2 separate regions of the Homo sapiens genome follow, and region 2 is linked to region 1. The links are contacts of gene promoters, found by promoter capture Hi-C in blood cells and fetal thymus (Javierre and others, 2016). All regions are on one chromosome and are shown on one strand. The core of a region is centred on a gene start or on the middle of the fragment in contact, and the rest is flanking DNA. Distances in the headings are between cores, read along the strand shown.

The links. Contacts are between HindIII fragments. The CHiCAGO score rates a contact against its expected background, and 5 or more counts as called.
Region 2: a fragment that was not itself captured here is called in contact with the fragment with the promoter of ADAM18 in region 1 in 1 of 17 cell types (non-activated CD4 T cells); the score reaches 5.7 in non-activated CD4 T cells.

The regions. Positions count from the first base shown.
Region 1 is chr8:39,583,041-39,585,955 of GRCh38, reverse strand. ADAM18 (ADAM metallopeptidase domain 18) reads right to left here and starts at 1,388. Exons shown (of 20, transcript NM_014237.3): 1 at 1,279-1,388; 2 at 604-680. The coding sequence starts at 1,333. RefSeq lists an enhancer at 723-1,222. The HindIII fragment of the contact is 1,955 bases long and covers 571-2,525 here.
Region 2 is chr8:39,358,458-39,361,166 of GRCh38, reverse strand. It overlaps the pseudogene ADAM5. Among named protein-coding and RNA genes, the nearest start is that of ADAM18, 220 kb to the left of the region's middle. The HindIII fragment of the contact is 193 bases long and covers 1,324-1,516 here.

The DNA.
Region 1 (2,915 bases), core at 139-2,638:
CAGGTGTTTCAATCAAGAAAACATGCAAGACTGAATGCCTTCAGTTTAATCAGTTTTTAATCTAGCAGGCAGGTTAGTAATTTTCCAACTTCTTTTTCCAGTTAATATTTACTTATTGTAATATTTTTCATCATAATAGGGCAAATGTGATATTTTTATTTTTTCTTTGCTTTTTTAAAATTTCTTTGTACATTACGTGCTATTAAGACTGATGCTTGTGGGTCAAATTTTGCATGTCTAAATTTTACTTATGACAAATTTCTACATCATTTACTGGACAATAAAAAATTTGTTAATTTGTTGGCTGAACCATGGTCATGAATATTTTATATTGATTTCTTTTTCCCACCAGTTTGATTGCTGAGCATTTCTTGGAAATTGTGAACAAGTAGTATGTTAAGAAGAGATGAAGAGAAAAGACAGGGAAATAAGCAGCAGAAATGGGGGAACAAGAGGATCAAAACACGGTAGGAGACAAAATAGCACAGGCAAAATATTATGATTTGGCAATGAATACAAATTAGTATGATCTGACTTAATATAAGGGTAAATAAAAATTGCCATAAAGCTTTAAATATAGAATAAATATTCCTCATCATTTACCTTCCTCTCTGAAACTTCACTGTCATTTGACTTAATCTTCCGTGGAACTGTGACATGCAGAAATATTCCTTCAGAACCTGCAGTAAGAAAATGTGTTTGTTTTTGTCTTTGTTTTGCATCAACAATCGTCTCAGTCAAGCACGGGTTCTTATCCCGGACTGCATGGTGGCGCCTAAAATTTTAAGTAGAAGTTCTCTCATGTGCTCACACTCTTTCTAGTCCACAAATTTCACTACATAATCAACAGCACATTGAAAATGGCTAAGACACAAAAAAAGAAAAAAAAATTAGACATTGCAGTTCTACAGGCCCCTCTGGTTCCCTTTTAGAATCGATGAGAGACTTGCTTCCTCAGGACTCTGAGGAGTTCGCTGAAGGCAGTTAGTACTCCACCACCTCCACCCTCCTTCACAGAGTGGGAAGATGCCAGAAGACGCACTGCGTGTGGGCCACTGAGACCATGGGCGCTGATGCAGAGCGCTAACAGGTCCTCCGCTAAGGCCTTTAGTTCCCCCTGGCCTGGCGTGGAAAGGTGTCCCTGACACACCAGAAGCACCAGCATGGGATCCCAGAAGGGAGAGGGGGAGGGTCCCAGAATGACAAGAAACTGCTCCCAGTAAGAGCCCAGCCCAGCTATAAAGTCGAAGAAGAAAGGGGAGGCTCCCATGGACTTACCTTCGTGGGCTTGCAGTCTTCCAAGCTCAGTGAGGAGGGCGAGGAGAAGGAACATGGCTCAGCCAGAGCGCAGGAGCCACAGCCAAGGACAGAGACCGTTGAGCAGCGTTGAGCTCGCGGGCAGGCTCTCGGCCACCGGGCGCCTGGGCCAGGGAGGACCCTGTGCTGCCCCAGGACCCTGGGGGTGAGGTCTGAGGAGCTCTGAGAGCTGGGCCACTTCCGCAGGGCGGGGAGGGGAAATGCCAGATGCAAGCATAGGTGTTTGCACAAAATTTGTTGCAGAGACGTTTAAGTTGTTTAAAGCCCTCAGTAGTTACATTGGGGTAAATAAGCTAGATTTTCCTTTTTAGTGAGGTTTTCTTTAGTGAGGTTGGTAATTTTGTTTCTCCATATCACAGTTTTATGGCAGGTTTTATTTACTAAGGTGGAGGAGAAAGAGGAAAAGGGAAATAACAGCTATTATTATTAGCTATTATTACTAGCAATTTTCTACATGCTACTGCTGACTTAAATATCTTTGCAAATACGGAAAAATCAAGAAAATTGAACTTTTTAATGCTGGTACGATTTCACCGTTATTCATGATAACCAAGATATGGAATCAACCTAAGTGTCAATGAGGAATGAGTAAATAAAGAAAATGTGGTAAATATACACAGTGGAATAGTATACAGCCTTAACGAAGGAAATTCATTTGCAACAACAGGGATGGAACCAGAGAACGTTATGCTAAGGGAAATATGCCAGGCACAGAAAGACAAATACTGTATGATCTCATTTGAATGTGGAATCTAATAAAGTCTATCTTATAGAAGGATGATTACTAGAGGCCAGGGAAGGTGGGATGAGGGATGGGGAAAGGGAAAATGTTGATCTAAAGGTACAAAATATGAGTCAGACTGAAAGAATAAGTTTTAATGATCTCTTGCACTACATGGTGATCACAGTTAATAATAATGCATATTTCAAAATTGCTAAAATTTATTTTCAATGTTCTCACCACAAAGAAAAGATAAATTGATGAGGAGATGGGTATATTAACTAGCTTGACTGAAGCATTCTATAATGTATAGATAGATCAAAACATCACGCTGTACCCTATAAATACACAAAATTATTTGAAATAAATTTGCAGAAAAGAAAATGGAGTTGATCCCACTAAGACCATCAAAAAGCACATTTCTTCAACAGTGTATTTTTCTCATAAAACTATATTATAATCAGTGGAGGAAAGAGAAAGGAAAGCTTTAATATTTAGTGTTATTTTTGCAAATAAAGAGAATTCAAGAAAATGGAACTTTATCTTGAAAAGACAATCAGAAAGCACTTTACTTCAACTGTGTACCTTGCTTACTACACAAGATTATAATATAGTGTTCTAAGGGAAAAGAAAACCTTTACAATGCAATCTGACTGTTTTGTTAACAGTGACTCTAAGCTCTAAGTAAGAAACTGTGGAGACAGGAAGGGCAGCAAGGCAAGGGGAGAGAGAAAAATTGAGACCACTGTAGAAGACTATGCAACTGCCTCCCTTAACTTTTTGACAAATATCTTAAATGGCACATGTCCAAAACCCAACCCATCTATCACACTCAAGCCTTTTACTCCAGTACCCCCTATTTCAGGGATGAATTGTG
Region 2 (2,709 bases), core at 171-2,670, 220 kb after region 1:
ATATAGATGTACCTCAGAGGTATTGTGGATTCAGTTCTAGAGAACCTCAGTAAAACAAATACAGTAATAAAGCAAGCCACATAAGTTTTGGGGTTTCCCAGTGCATATAAGTTGTGTTCACACTATATTGTAGTGTATAATAGCGCTATGCCTAAAAAATATACATACTTTAATTAAAAAATATTTTATTGATAAAAAGTGATAACAATCATCTGAGCCTTCAGTTTACTGGTAATCTTTTTGCTGCTGGAGGATCTTGCCTCAATGTTGATGGCGCTGACTAATCAGGGTCATGGCTATTAACAATTGAAGTGGCTGTGGCAATATCTTAAAATAGGACAACAATGAAATTGGCCACATCAATTGACTCTTTCTTTCCTGAAAGATTTCTCTGTAGCATGCAATGCTGTTTGATAGCATTTAACTCACAGTAAAACTTCTGTCAACACTGAAGTCAATCCCTTCAAATGTTGTCACTGCTTTATCAACTTTGTTTATGTAATATTCCAAATCCTATATTGTCATTTTGAAAATGTTCACAGTACCTTCACCAGGAATATATTCCATCTCAAGAAATCACTTTCTTCGCTCATCCATAAGAAGCAACTCCTCATCAATTCAAGTTTTATTAGGAGATTGCAGCAATTCAGTCACATCTTCAGACTCTAATTCTAGTTCTCTTACTATTTGTATCACATCTGCATCTACCTCCTCCACTGAAATCCTGAACCCTTCAAAGTCATCCATGAAAGTTTGAATCAACTTCTCCCAAACTCTTGTTAATGTTGATATTTTGATCTCCATCTATGAATTGCAAATGTTCTTAATGGTATTTTAAATGGTGTATCCTTTCTGAAGATTTTTAGATAATTTTGCCCACACCCATCAGAAGACACTATCTATGGCAGCTAGAGTCTTTACATAATAAGGCTTGAAAGTCAAAATGACTCCTTGATCATTTGTCTGACCATGGGCTGCAGAATGGATATTGTGTTAAGCAGGTATGAAAACATTAATCTGCTTATACATCTCCATCAGAGCTCTTGGGTGACTAGTCGCATTGTCAATGAGCAGTAATGTTTTCAAAGGAATCTTTTTTTCCTGAGTATTGGGTCTCAACAATGAGCTGAACATATTCATTAAGCCATGCTGTAAACAGATATGCTGTCATCCAGGCTTTGTTGTTCCAACATAGAGCACAGGCAGAGCAGATTTAGCGCAATTCTTAAGGGTCATGGGATTTTTGGAATGATAAATGATCATTGGCTTTAACTTAAAGTCACCAGTTGTATTAGCCCATAACAAGAGAGTCAGCCTAAAGCTTTGAAGCCAGGCATTAAATTCTCTCTAGCTATGAAAGTCCTAGAAAGCATCGGTATTAGGCCATTCTTCCACTGCCATAAAGTAGTATCTGAGATTGAGTACTTTACAAGAAAAGACATTTAATCGATTCATGGTTCTGCAGGCTGTACAGGAAACATAGTGGCATCTTCTTCTGGGGAGGCCTCAGGAAGCTTCCATTCATGGCAGAAGGCAAAGGAGGTCAGGCACATCACATGGCAAGAACAGGAGCCAAAGCAAGAGGGAGTTGGTTGGGGGAGAAGGGAGACATGCCACACCCTTTTAACCAATCAGATCTCATGAGAACTTAATCACTATCGTGAAGATAGCACCAAGCCATGAGGGATCCACCCCCAAAATCCAAACACTTCCCACCAGACCCCACCTCCAGCAGTGGGGATTGCAATTTAACAGAGATTTGGATAGGGACAAATAGCCAAACTATATTAGCATCTTTTTTCAATAAAAGGCTGTTTCATCTACACTGAAAATCCATTGTTTAGTGTAGATACCAGCATCAATGATCTTAGCTAGATCTTTTGGATAACTTGCTGCAGCTTCTGTATCAGCACTTGCTGCTTCACCTTGCACTCATGCTATGGAAAAATCTTCTTTCCTTAAATCTTATAAACAAACATCTGCTAGCTTAAAATTTTCTCCTGCAGCTTACTCACTTCTCTCAGCCATCATAAAATTAAAGAGAGTTAGGTCCTTGCTCTGGATTAGGCTTTGGCTTGAGGGAATGTTGTGGCCGGTTGGATCTTCCATCCAAACCACTAAAACTTTTTCCATATCAGCAATAAGCCTGTTTTGCTTTCTTATCATTTGTGTGTTCACTGGGCTAGTGCTTTTACTTTCTTTCAAGAACTTTCCTTTGTATTCCTAACTTGGCTAACTGTTTAGCACAAAGTCCTGGCTTTCAACCTATTTCAGCTTTTGACATGCCTGTCGCAGGAATCTTGATCATTTCTAGCTTTTGACTTAAAATGAAAAACATGAAACTTTCTTTCTGGTGAACGCTTAGAGGCCATGTATGGTTATTAATTGGTCTAATGTCAATATTGTTGTGTTTCAAGGAACAGAAAAGCCTGTGGAGAGGGAAAGACAGGGGAATGGCTGGATAGGGATCAATTAGAACATATACATTTATTGATTATTTGGATTGAATCTAATTGGAGACTTTTGACTTTTCCTGTACGTGGAGTATATCTTTCTCTAGGTTTGGAGAGTTTTCTCTTCTATTATTTCTGTAAATAAGCTATTTTTTTTTTTTTTGAGATGGAGTCTCACTCTGTCCCACAGGCTGGAGTGCAGAGGTGCGATCTTGGTTCACTGCAAGCTCCGCCTCCCGGGTTCACACCATTCTCC